2 separate regions of the Homo sapiens genome follow, and region 2 is linked to region 1. Evidence: promoter capture Hi-C in human tissues and cell types (Jung and others, 2019). All regions are on one chromosome and are shown on one strand. Each heading gives the region's core, a stretch centred on a gene start or on the middle of the fragment in contact. The rest is flanking DNA. Distances are from core to core; before and after follow the strand shown. Region 1 holds the start of TEAD4 (TEA domain transcription factor 4). Region 2 overlaps CACNA1C (calcium voltage-gated channel subunit alpha1 C).

Region 1 (6,393 bases), core at 2,827-5,326:
TCCGCCCGCCTCAGCCTCCCAAAGTGCTGGGATTACAGGTGTCAGCCACCACGCCCAGCTATTTATTTATTTTTTGAAATGGAGTTTCACTCTTGCTGCCCAGGCTGGAGTGCAACGGTGCGATTTAGGCTCACTGCCACCTCCACCTCCTGTGTTCAAGTGATTCTCCTGCCTCAGCCTCCCAAGTTGCTGGGACTAAAGGCGCGTGCCATCGCGCCTGGCTAATTTTTTGTATTTTTAGTAGAGATGGGGTTTCACCATGTTGGCAAGGCTGGTCTCGAACTCCTGACCTCAGGTGATCCGCCTGTCTCAGCCTCCCAAAGTGCTGGAATTACAGGTGTGAGCCACCATGCCCAGCCCCTATATATAATTTTTAGAATCTGCTTTTCCACTTATATCATGAATGTGTCTGGTTTATTTTATATTATTTTATTTATTTTTTCTGAGACAACGTCTTGCTCTGTCGCCCAGGCTGGAATGCAGTGGCGAGGTCACGACTCACTGCAGCCTTGACCTCCCGAGCTCAAACAAGCCTCCCACTTCAGCCTCCCAAGTAGCTGGGACCAGAGGTGTGTGCTACTATGCCCAGCTAATTTTTATTTATTTATTTATTTGGTAGAGGTAAGGTCTCATTATATTGCTCAGGCTGGTCTCAAACTCCTGGGCTGAAGAGATCCTCCAACCTCGGCCTCCCAAAGTACTGGGATTACTGATGTGAGCCACTGTGCCCAATTAATTGATTTTTAACTTTGACTTTGGAATATAGCCAACACAAATACCCCTACATGAAACCACCCAGCCCTGCCCACACCCTTACTCTCCTCCTCCTGCACAGTCCATCATCAAGCTTGAGTGAGGATCCATTTGTAGGATCCAGACAGCTGAAATATTTCCACCAAAAGACTCATTCCTGAGGGTCAGTGAATTAGGGTCCTGTCCCTTAAGAAATGTAAACATCCCTGGGAAGGGCTGATGTGTGGGTAAAATCACCTTGCCTTTAACTCTTCAGAATTTGTACATCTGTTAACTTTCCTTTACCTAGACATTCCTCAACAGCTCCAAGCCTGAGGTCCCCAAAGCTCCAGAGCTCTCCAGGAGACTATAAGGGTATGGGCCAGAAAGTCAAGATCCTGAAGACACACCTTCCCAGCTTGGATCACTGATGGTCTTGGATAGTTAAGACTTAGAGGGAATAAAGATCTCCAAGTTCGTTGTCAGCAGTCTACCCTAACCGTGACACTAGGGTTGCTTTCCTGTTTCTACTCTGGACTCTGTCCTGCTTTCCTCTCCGTCCCCTGAACCTGGCTGGATTCCCCTCCGACCTCACCCCACTCCCCTTTTGCTTGAATTTCTTTCTTTCTTTTTTTTTTTTTTGAGACGGAGTTTCATTCTTTTTGCCCAGGCTGCAGTGCAATGTCGTGATCTCAGCTCACTGCAACCTCCACCTCCTGGGTTCAAGTGATTCTCCTGCCTCAGCCTCCCGAGTAGCTGGGATTACAGGCATGCACCACCACGCCCAGCTAATATTGTATTTTTAGTAGAGATGGGGTTTCTCCATGTTGGTCAGGCTGGTCTGGAACTCCTGACCTCGTGATCCACCCACCTCAGCCTCCCAAAGTGCTGGGATTACAGGTATGAGCCACTGTGCCCAGCCCTGAATTCTTATCTCACTTACTGACACCAACCATTGTTCAGCTGTTAAAGGTTAGCGATTTTTGTTTTCTCTCTCACTACACAGCCAAATGATCTGAACCGTTTCCTAGCTCCTTCCCCTCCTCCTCAACCTCAGGACCACTGCTTGAGTTTTAGGGCACCCCGAGTCTCCAGTTCAACTGCAAGACTGTTGCAAGACGGTCTTCTTGATGGTGCTGCTGATTAAGTCACACTTGTGTCTTTTTTGATGCCTAACTCTTCAGCATGGCACGCAATGACCTTCAAAGTCTGGTATCCACTTCCTTCAATCTTATTATCCACATCTCTATTCTCCAGCCACACCAGTTTACATAGCTTCGCTAAACACACCAGCAGACTGGCTGCCTCACCTTTGTAGGTGCTATTCCATGTGTCTTAAATGGGGTTTCCAGTCTCAGTTTGGCAAACCCTCATTTATCCTCAAGAGCTAGATCAAATGCACTGTAATTGGATTTCACTGTTCCTTCCCTTGGGTTCCCATTGAACTTTGCATAATTGTCTGTCTTCTCACCTAGACTGGAACTACTTGAGGAAAGGGACCTACTCCTTCCCTTAGTGCGGTGTCAAAGTCAACAAACACTCCAATGATTGCTGAATTAATATAATTATTATTAATTACTTTGAGACAGGGTTTCGCTCTGTCATCCAGGCTGGTGTGTAGTGGTGCATTCACGGCTCACTGCAGCCTCAACTTTCTGGGGTCAAACTATCCTCCCACCTCAGCCTCCTGAGTAGCTGGGACTACAGGTGCAGGCCACCATGATGCCCAGGCTGATCTCGAACTCCTGGGCTCAAGCGATCCACCTGCCTCGGCCTCCCAAATTGCTAAGATGACAGGCGTGAGCCACCGGGCCCCCCATGATTGCTGAATTAAATAGTTGGTGCTTAGTGTGTACTTCACGTGGCGCTGATATGCTGCCTTGCGTTTTGGTCTTTTCATGTGCATGAGGTGTGACCAAGCCTTGATATGATTCATTATTTAACAAGAATACCACAATTCATCTATTCAAATGAGGGCTGCGTCTTCAACGCCTTCACCTTGCAGGACTGGATGCTTAGCTCAGTCATTGCTTGAAACACTTTTGGAATACCTCTCTTGGAAACAACTTTGGCATCGATAGCACTTTCCTTTCAATATCTTCCACGGTAGCAATTGTTTTTCATTTATGCAGCATTTATCATGCACTTCCCTATCCCAGGCACCAGGCTGGATCTGTGTGAAAGATAAGATAAATCAGACATTACTCTGTCTTCAAGGAAGTTTCTGTTTGGCAAGGGAGATAAGATCTAGACAACCACCCAACACAAGGCTAAGTGATAATGCCCCAGAAAAGGTTGGATTTGATTTTTGGAAAAAGCCAAAAGTCCTTTGGTTTCAGTCTCCTGGCCAGGTAGATGATGGCGCTACCTGCCAGCACACTGCTTTAAGCCCGTTTGTCCTAAGCGTCTCCAAACAAGGAGCCCAGCGTGTTTCCAGCACCTCCTGCCCCAATAAGAGACTCCTGGGCATGTGTGTCTGAAGTCCAGACTCTCACCGATGGCAGTATACACCGAGGCCTCCCCAGCTAAACTCTGAGCTCTTTGAGGGCAGGTGCTGACGGCTGATCCTGATCTTCACAGTATCTGGACTCATCACACATCTTAGATGAATATTCATTGAGTCACTGAGCCCAGAAGGCGTCCCATGGCATGCCACATGGACTTCAAACCGAGTGCCCTTTCTCCCATGTGGTTTACTCGTAGTGGCGGTTTTACAGATGCCCAAGGGGCAGGAGAGAAAAACGGAAAGAGCTAAAGCCGGGGAGGGCAAGCGAGGGGGCACTGGCAGCGGATCTGGGAATGGAGCCCGCGAGTTCCTGCTTCCTGGTTCCCCGGAGCAAGTGTCCTTTGGTGGGAGCCGCAGGAAGGGAGCAGCCCTTCCTGCGCGCCGGGAGCCCGCCCCTTCCCCGGCCTCCCAGGGACTCGTGCGGAGGGACGCCGGGTGGCGGGGCGGGAGTCTGGGCCCCGTCCACCCCCCCGCCCCCGGGACAGCCCCACCCCGGCGAAGAGGAAGGCTCTCGGCTCCTGGGAAAGGGAGTCGGGACCCCGCCAGGAGGGGAGGGCGCGGGGCGCGCAACGAGCAGCCAAACAGTCGGAGCGGAGAGATCGAAGGGCTAGTGGGCGTGGGGGCCGCAGCCGAGGCCCGGGTGGAGGGGTCCCCGCCGTCCCTCGGCCCCCTCCCCCGCCGCCCGCCCCGGCCCGGCCCGGCCCCGCCCCGCCCCGGCGGCCCGGCCCCTCGCCCGCCCGCGCGCGGCGCAGTCTCCTCCCCGAGGTGCCGGTGGCCCCGCCGCCACTCCCTCCGGCTCCCTCCCTCCCGCCGCGGCGCGCATCTCATTCCAGCCCTCATTCCGCGCATTCCAGCGTCCTCCTCGCACACTCGAGGCCAGGGGGCGGGAGGGCCGCAGCTCCGGCGCCGCCGCGTCCCGCCAGGTGAGAGGCGCCCGCGCCCGCCGCACCCGCCGGCGCCCTCACGGGCCGCGCGCCCCACGCCGCCGCAGCCGACCGCTCGCGCCGCGTGCTCGGCTGCTCTTTTCTTTCCGCCGCCCGCGTTCCCGCCTTGGACCTCTGCGCTCCGACGCGCTCCGTCCCGACCTCTGGCTTCCCTCCGCGCTCCGGCGCTGCTCGCTGCCCCTCTCCCGCTTCCCTCCTGTCCGCCCCGCGCTCCCCTCCTCGCTCCCGGTTGACTCACTCCTCCAGGAATAGGGATCCCCGTGTTTTCCCGTCAGTCCCATTCTGGGAAAACTCCTCCCTCCGCGCGCTCCGCTCCGCTCCGCTGGGCGCACCGGGGCCGGTCGGCGCGGGGTGGGCTTGGCCCCGCGGCCCCGCCTTCACTGCGCCGCCCGTCGGCCCCGGCCGGAGCCCGGCTCTGCGCGCTGACGCCCTGTCGTCCCCGCAGAACGATCGCCGCGGCCGGAAGAGTTGGCGCTCGGGGCGGACTCCTTGGAACTGGCTTAGCGCACCCATCCCACCTTCCCGCACCCTGGGACCGGTAAGGCTGGGGCGCGGGGACTTGGTAGGACTTTGCCGGAGGGCAGGAGTCTGCGCGGTGCGTGCGGAGCTCCCTCCCGGGACGAGACTGGGAAGAGCGAGGCACGTGGAGGCGGCGCGACTGAGGCTGCTGGAGGCGAAGCGGCTCCAGGGGCGGGTAAGGGGGGTGGACACTCGGGACTTTGGGGGAAAGGGAGGCCGGTGTGGAAAGGACCGGAGAGGCAGAACCGAGAGCATCGGCAACAGAAGAGACCCAGCACCCATGCCTCTTTTCTGCTGGGCCCTTTTCGAGCCTGGAAGGGAGAGACCTGGAGGTAAGCGGACTGCCTGTTTTAAGTGCAAAGGCGATGCGAAAGTCGGGGGACCCCTGCAAAAGGTCCTACACCTCAGGGCTTGGGAAGCTGCTGTGTTTCCTGATGGGGACTAGTGGATCGATCCAGGGAGCAGAACTTTCAAACCCCAAAGTGAACATTTCCCCCGTTGTGCTGAGGCACTTGAGGCCCCGCGGACTGACTGCGTCTGTGCTGAGTCTGTGTGACACCTGACTGCGAGTCCCCCTCGCTTTGAGTCTCTGTGTGGGTGATGTCTGTTCACGTGTGGCTCACCTTGGCTTCCAGTGGGCGTATTTGTTTGTGTTGAACGTGAGTGACAGAGTGTGTGTATATGTCTGCGTGAGAAGGGGCTGTCTGAAAGTGAGTATCTCTGAGTAGGTGTGTGATGCCACGTCTCTTGAGTATGTGTTTCTCTTCGAGGATGTTGGTTCTGGCTAGGACTGTTCTTCCTCCCTACATAGCCGTGGGCAAGAGTCAGTGTCTCTGGTTGCCTGAGTGCAGGGATAATTTGACTGTGGTTTTGGAGTGTGTGGCCTCCAGGCTCCGTTTCCCCTGGACCGGGCAGAGCTGGAAGGAAGCTGGCTCCACCTGCCTCTTGGAGCCAGGAGGCTGACTTTCTCAGGGCGAGGGTCTTGTGCTTGCCTGGAATAGGTCAAAAAGCTGGTAGGAGGCTGAAGGAAGTTGAGATCTTTGCCTTTGGGGGATGGGATGGGCGGGTGAGATTTGGGAAGGTTTGTCGGGGTGGATCCCCGGGAAAAGGAGACAGTTTTGAATCTGGAGACTTGTGTAAATAGTGCTTTTAAGTTGCCCTCAAGGACAAACAGGGAGGTATACCAGCCTGAACTACTTTTCCTGGTTTAACTCTCCTCGGAGCTGACCAGGTAACCCAGTAGAAGAATCCCTCATTCTTTCCAACTTGCCAGACACTCAGCACTTCCTTTGAGAAGAGGAATGAGTAGCTTGTTGCATGAGGGCTTCAACGTGGATATCATGTGTAGGGCTTCTTGGAAGGAAGGAGCCAGAAACTGTCTCGGGGGTTGGGGGTTCTCGTCCTTGCTCCTCCATCCATCCTGAGGATGTGGATGTTCTTGTGGGAAACACCTCACCCTCTCACCTCTTCGGCCTGGTGTGCGACTGGTCTAAAAGCAGCACTGATGGAGTGGAAAGGGCACAGGTTTGGGGTCAGGCAGACCAGGGTACAAATCCTGAGTCTCTCACTACCTTTAAGGCTCTCAGGCTGTTTCCTGGTGGGTAATACGAGCGGAGCTTTTCTGTCCAGAAAGTTTCTTGTGAAAAGTCGATGTCTGCAGAGCCCCCACCCAGCAGCACAGTGCCTGGCACA
Region 2 (6,747 bases), core at 1,447-3,946, 280 kb before region 1:
CTGAAGGGCTGGCTTTGCATAGGAGAGGATCTAATCTAGGCATCTAGTCTTGGGGGCCTGCACCTGTTGTGGGGGCCTCATCCTTCTCTGCAACCTCACTCCCCTTCCACGGCCTTTGAGGACCCAAGTACTGGGTCCCCATACCCCCTTCTCCCCTCTGGCCTCATGAAGCTTCTGCTTAAGGAGGGCTCCACGTCCGTCTTTAGCATCTCAGGGTGAACTAATTCCCCACCCTCTAAGGGCATTTTCATGTGAAGCTTTGTTCTCTGTGACATAAGGGGAGAGGGATGTTTAGAGGAGCTGGGGGAGGAGACCCCAGGGGATTTCCTTGTCCCCACAGATATATCTCTCCACATAGCAAAATACATGCAAAGCACCCGGCACAGTGCCCAGCACACAGTCGGTGCTCATGAAATGTCGGTTCCCTCTGCCCACTGCAGATGGTACAAACAACACACAGGGCATCAAGCTTCAGCTTGGTGAAGAGGAGGAGCATAGCCCACGTCCCAGCTCCCTTGTCCCCGTGTCACAGCTCAAGGCTAACGGCAGCTCTAGTGCCAGCATTGCTTGTGCTGAGGATGGGCCAGCACGTCCTGTGCCCGGTGGCCCCCAAAAGTGCTGCTGCCTGCCTGCTGCTGCTCTGCGTCTCCAGCTCCTCCCTCCGTGCTTCACCAAAGCCCACTCCACCTCCCTCCCCTCCCAGTCCTCCTGGAGCTCCCACCTCTCATCTTTCCTTCCACTGCGGGGCGGGTGGCAGTCTGCAGTCCTCCTCCTCGAGAGAGAGAATTGCTTCTACCCTGCCTGGGATGCTCAGAGCCAGGGCACTGATTTAGCACTCGGCTCTGAGAGGATGGACCAGGATCTTTCTCTGATGCCCTCAGGGGTCTGAGGATAAAGTGGGCCCAGCATGCAAGGTCTATAGAAAGCAAGACAAAGGGAGGCACTGAGCTGAGCTCAGACAGGAAAAGGAAGAGGCCTTGGTCCAGAGCTAAAGATGACCTGACCCTGTCCCAGCAGGGAAAGGCACGTTCCGATGTGTGAGGATCTGGAGCTCAGGAGGGATTCAGGCTCAGCAGGGACTCAGGCTCACTGCCTTCTGCTCAGGAGAGCAAACCCCTCTAGGTGAGGCTTCCTCTCTGTGCCTTTACCCCAGGGTGCCAGTGTCAGAATCAAGGGCACCATCAAAATAAGAGGCCAAGGACTTCTCAGCTATGCCAAATGCCAAAGACCCAGGTGTCATAGCTGGAGGTGAGTGGGGGGCAGCCTCTAAGTTAGGCAGGGCATATGTCATTCCAATTTCATAGGGAAACTGAGGCATGAGGTGGACCAAGTGACTTGGACCAGAGGGTAAGTGGATTGGGGTCAGGACTCCTGGATCCACAGCAGACATCCTTCTCCCAAATGGGACCCTCACCCTAATCTGAACACTTCTATGGATCCATCAGCAATCACAGGAGAACAAAGCACCAGCAACTGTATGCCTGTTCACGTGTGTGTGCTTGTGTTTGTGCACGTGTGTACACCTGCATGTGTGTGCGTGTGTGATGCTTTACTTGCTGAAGGAAGTGGAGGAAGGTTGGCAGTTTCTGATGTTTTTCTTCATCTTGGATATTGTAGGTGCCACTCCCGGGAGAGCCAGGCAGCCATGGCGGGTCAGGAGGAGACGTCTCAGGATGAGACCTATGAAGTGAAGATGAACCATGACACGGAGGCCTGCAGTGAGCCCAGCCTGCTCTCCACAGAGATGTGAGCTCTGCTGCCCTCTGCTGAGGCTGACCCAAGTGTGGGAACAAATGTGGGGAGGCAGAGGCAGGTCCCTGAGATCCCTCCTCTGGGGCTGATTGCAGGAGGAGAGGAGATCACAGAGAAAACATCTGCACCGCCTCTTTCATCTCCTCAGTGAAATGGGAGCCCCCCAACACACAACACACACAAACACACACACACCACACACACACACAGACACACACAACACACACATACACGATGCCCTTTTTAGCTTGGGGTTTCCTCGCCAGGAAAATTTCTGAACATTGTTTTATAAACATTGTAGGCTGTAAGACACAGTCATAAATATATTTTCTGGTGAGACTCAGTATGCACATACATATATAGATAATTAAACAAGTGTTTCAAGACACTGCTTATAATGAAGCTGCCCAGAAGAGGGCACTGGTGGCAAAGCCAGGCCTGAGATTTTTGTCCTTGCTGCCATTCTTAGAGTATTTTTAGCTGCAGTTCTAGATCCTTTAGAAGGTGGTGACATCCATTTGGTCACTAATGACTAGCCCTTAAAAGCAGGTGCAGCACAGCACAATATCAGAAACTATCAGAATGCGTCAAACGTCACAAAGGTAAGCGCTGTGCTGGGAAACACTTGCTTAATTGCCAACAGATGTGGCTATCTGGGGGTCTCCTTGAGAAACATCTTTATGACTCTGAGTCACATCCACAGAAGTTTGAGACACAGAGTGACATCCACAGAAGTTTGAGACACAGTGTTTCCGAAGCTTTTCTGGCTCTTTTCACCCTCAAAGCCCTGTCTCATCTGTTACTGTATACATGACTCACAACAGGCCTCTGAGACAGAGAGGGCATATGTCATTTCAATTTTGTAGAAAGGGAAATTGAGGCATGGGGTTTTCCCCAGGGGGTAATGCCTGGGTCCCATGGGCTTGCGTGCAGCCACTTGAAAATGGGCCCTCTGGAGGGACAGGCAGGCCAGCGGCAGGTGTGCCTGCTCCTTGGATGGACACTTTTCCAGGGGTTTAGAGAGAAGCTCCCACTTCTCTATTATTTTCTGAGCTGGAGGGCAGGCATGTCAAGAACCTGGGATGCTGGGGGGCTGTGCCACCTGCTGGGAGCCACTGTCCCACTCTGGAACGGCAGCACAGTGAAGCGTGGCCAGGCACGATGCAGGGTGTGTCCTCTCTCAGCCCCGCCAGGGAACCCTGGAGCTGCCGATGCAGACAGGGAGGAGCCCCACGGGGGCCCAGGGCGGGAGGGAAGCCCTCACCGACCCCTCCCAGCATGTCAGTCCATTCAGTTCCTGAAAGGACTTCAGAGTGAGGAAGGACTAGCCTTGCAGGCTTTTGAAGACAGGAAAGGTGTGGCTGGAGGTGGTGGGAGGGGACACCAGGTGCCCCACCCTGAGGAGTGTGGGGAGAATGGCAGCCAGGCCAGCACAGCATGCGGCTTCCTGGGGTCCAGTGCTTTCTGCTCGGGAACTGGATGGGAAGAGTAGCAGAAGCACCTCCTTTTCCCCAGCATAGAAAGAAGAATCGAGTGAGTAAGGAAAAGCATGGAAAGAGTCCCAACCAGCGGCACTTGACAAATCACTCAACTGCCCTGTGCCTTCGTGTCCCCATCAGCAAAATGGGACGGTGGGGGTGACAGGCCTTCTACTTTTCTGACTCAGTGAAACACGGTCAATATAAAAAAGGGAAATACCTGAAGCTCCTTATGAGATAACTGTCTCTAAATTGATTCTTAGAGAATACAAACGAATGCCTGACCACCTACCCTAGAAATCAGGAAGAGCATATATTTTAAACTATTTCGGTTATTCTAGAGTGCTTGGTGCACCAGGCACTCTGCTAGGTTGTTAAGAACCCAGTCTCCATCCTCAAGGAAATTCCACAAACTAGGAAACTAAGAGGGTCTCAGGAGAGGAAGATAACACAGAGTTTCTCACTACCCCCAGAGTGGTACAACCCCCAGGGGTACAGGCGTTCAGAGAAAGTTGAGGGCAGGGTGACCTGAACTGGTACCACGCACAAGGTGAAATGGAAGCTGGATCTGCAAGAGCCAGGGTGATTTGCATAAGAAGAAAATACAATAGGGAGGCCTTAGCTAGCTGAGAGTAAGAGCTAGTCTTGAAGGTATAAATACTGCGGTCTGCACTCTACCAGCCTTCCTGCACATCTATAAATCATCCAAGTCTCTGTGCTGTACCATGAGCAGGCATGGAGTCACCCTCAGAGGTGTGGGGTGGCACCAGGGACCAGTGAGTCAGTGGTCTCATCTGGGAATGAGGTTGGAATGCAGCTGTGCTTCTTGAACTGCAGGCTGACCCAGCAGAGATTGTGAATCAAAATTTTAATAAAAATAGAACAGACTAAAGTGGACTGGGACTCACCAGGGTGCAACGCATGCACCGAGGGTAACCAAAGGCTATGAGGTTTCATTCCATCAGGTGTGTCTGTGCATGATGAGAAGCTGTCAAATCTACTTCTCATCGAGTTTCCATCAAAGGCCTGGAAGCCATAGACTAGATGCCCCATGAGGTCCCTCACAGCCCTGCTGTTCACCTACTGAGTGACCGTAGAGTGGTTGTAGGCAGCTGCTTATGTGCTCTTGCTGATGAGGGGGTGGCAGGGCGGGAGAAATCGGGGGACGGGCATAAGTTTGGGTGAAAGTTGAGGGTCACTGGGGAAAACAGCATCAGCTCATGCAAACACGGGAGCCAAGGCCATTCCCCAAAAGAACTTCATGGGCCTAGGATTCTTTCCGCTTTCTCAACACCTTTGACCCCAGAGTGCCTTCACTGCCCCAAGTCAGAACTGCAGGCTTATGAGACAGGCTGCGGGTGAGGAGCTGGCCATTCCCACTGAGCAGGCCTGGAAGACGTCAGGGGCAGGCCAGAACTTCTTGGGGTGGCAATTCCCCAAACCTGCATGTAAGCACAAAGTGTGCGTCCCTTCACTAAGGATCAGAGCAAAGTGCTTTCCGGGGGTGCAGCTGTCCCTGTGGGTGGCCACTTCTCAGCCTCCAGGAACAAGCCCCATGAGCTCTCTGTTCCAGGCTCTCCTACCAGGATGACGAAAATCGGCAACTGACGCTCCCAGAGGAGGACAAGAGGGACATCCGGCAATCTCCGAAGAGGGGTTTCCTCCGCTCTGCCTCACTAGGTAAATGCACCGCTCGCTCTCTGGATGTGGTCGGCGGTTACTCCCTAGAGAACACTGGTCAGGGATGATTGGGAAATCGTTGTGGCCTGCCTCAAATCAGCCCCACACAGTGGGGCATTTCCAAAGCAAGGAGACAACATTCCAAAGGCAGGGTGTGCAGGGATGAGCCCTGGACACCAGAATACGTCTCAGACGAGGGGAGGGGAAAGGAGGAGCGTCTCGGGCCATAGTTACTGCTCCTGGCACCCCACCAGGGTGTAAACTGTCACAGGCCAGTGCCCTGTTTTCCTGCCCTGATGGTGGCTCTCTGGCTGGCTTTGCAGGTCGAAGGGCCTCCTTCCACCTGGAATGTCTGAAGCGACAGAAGGACCGAGGGGGAGACATCTCTCAGAAGACAGTCCTGCCCTTGCATCTGGTTCATCATCAGGTAGCTCACACTTTTGGACAGGCCACTGTCACCTGCCAGCAGGCCAGACAGTCCCCAGGGTGACGGACAAATCCTGAAGACTTCAGTGGGTCTTGCCTGTCTCAGATGGCTGGCACGTCCTGCCCCTGCCCTAAGAGCCATCCCTGTAGGGCTTCACACTCCTGTGCAGGTGAGGGCCACGGCAAGGTCTGCAGCATCGCAGGTGGGGGCCTAGGAAGTGCTGGTGCACAGGAGCTCTTTGTGTGATCCTGAGGACCCACAGCTGCAGGTTCCACCTGAGCTTTCTTCTTAGGCTGCCACAGATGCCACTGACGCCTCTGACACTGGCCTATGCCTCAGGGCACTCAGGAAGATGTACTTGTACCTAGAGTTTGAATATACCTGGAAATTTTGCCACACAAAAATCCATCCAGTGACATAAAGAAGTGATTAAAGAACCCACCAGCAACATGGTCAAGAGTAGGGAATGACATCCGTGGGAAGCAGGTCCAGGGAGATTCCATAAATGAAATGTCTCTTGGCATGGCTGACTCCAGCTGAGACAGTGAAATCCAAGATGCCAGGACCAAACATGCCTTAGTATCTTTGAACTTCAGTGTTATCTAAGGCCAGTCTATTAACCCCAGGCAAACTGAGGTCTAAACCTGGGTTTCCCAACATTCTGACCTTATTAAAGTTATACTCTTTTATAGCATGGACCTATGTTTTAAATAGACCTATGCTTTGTACCCAAAGGCATTCAACTGCCAATCAAAAGTCATAATCAGCATGAGATGGCCAGTGTGGCCTGGCTGAGTTGATAGTACTTCAGCTCCAAAAAATAAACAGGTTTTCTTAGCCTGTGTGGTGTTGTCTTCCACTGGGCTTTCTGAAATAATGAATATGGCCTTACACTTTTCTCAGATTCCCAGGGACCCAGGAGCCCCAGGCTGAGGACCACCATGGGCAGGGGCAGGAGGTGGAAGGATGTGGGGACACTGTGTGTGCTATCTTAAAAGATTTCTAGAAGTCGATTTCACCTATCTGTTCTTGTCGTACTGGTAGGCACGAAACTCTCCTCTTCATCTCTTTCTCCTCCTGTACTCTGTGACCCTAGAGGTGGTCTTTCCCCACCACAGTGTCGCTCTCTCCCGGGAGCACATCCCATCAGAGCAGCTCACCCTGCAGAGCCTCTGCCCTGGCAGGTTGTCATGGCAACAGCCAGACAGGCCTGGTCCCTACCCTCAGGATGCTCAAGAATATTCAGGGACAGAGGGCGTACCGTGTGACTTTTTTTTTTTTTTTTTTGAGACAGAGTTTTGCTCTTGTTGCCCAGGCTGGAGTGCAATGGCACGATCTCGGCTCACCACAACCTCCACCTCCCGGGTTCAAGTGATTCTCCTGCCTCAGCCTCCCAAGTAGCTGGGATTA

Evidence for each region. The method cuts DNA at HindIII sites, captures the fragments that hold promoters and counts their contacts. A contact is called where the count stands out against the background at its distance.
Region 2: a contact is called between a fragment that was not itself captured here and the fragment with the promoter of TEAD4 in region 1, in 1 of the 25 tissues and cell types used here (spleen).

Annotation. Positions count from the first base shown.
Region 1 is chr12:2,955,321-2,961,713 of GRCh38, forward strand. TEAD4 (TEA domain transcription factor 4) reads left to right here and starts at 4,077. Exons shown (of 13, transcript NM_003213.4): 1 at 4,077-4,161; 2 at 4,628-4,720. It overlaps LOC124902859 (a long non-coding RNA gene), which reads right to left and starts at 4,728. Exons shown (of 2, transcript XR_007063159.1): 1 at 4,421-4,728; 2 at 2,278-2,905. RefSeq lists an enhancer at 4,247-4,982. The HindIII fragment of the contact is 29,957 bases long and covers 1-6,393 here.
Region 2 is chr12:2,680,933-2,687,679 of GRCh38, forward strand. CACNA1C (calcium voltage-gated channel subunit alpha1 C) reads left to right here. Exons shown (of 47, transcript NM_000719.7): 43 at 1,618-1,746; 44 at 4,804-4,910; 45 at 5,234-5,337. The region is part of intron 3 of CACNA1C-AS1 (CACNA1C antisense RNA 1); the gene reads right to left. Among named protein-coding and RNA genes, the nearest start is that of CACNA1C-AS1, 6.9 kb to the right of the region's middle. The HindIII fragment of the contact is 6,250 bases long and covers 1-5,821 here.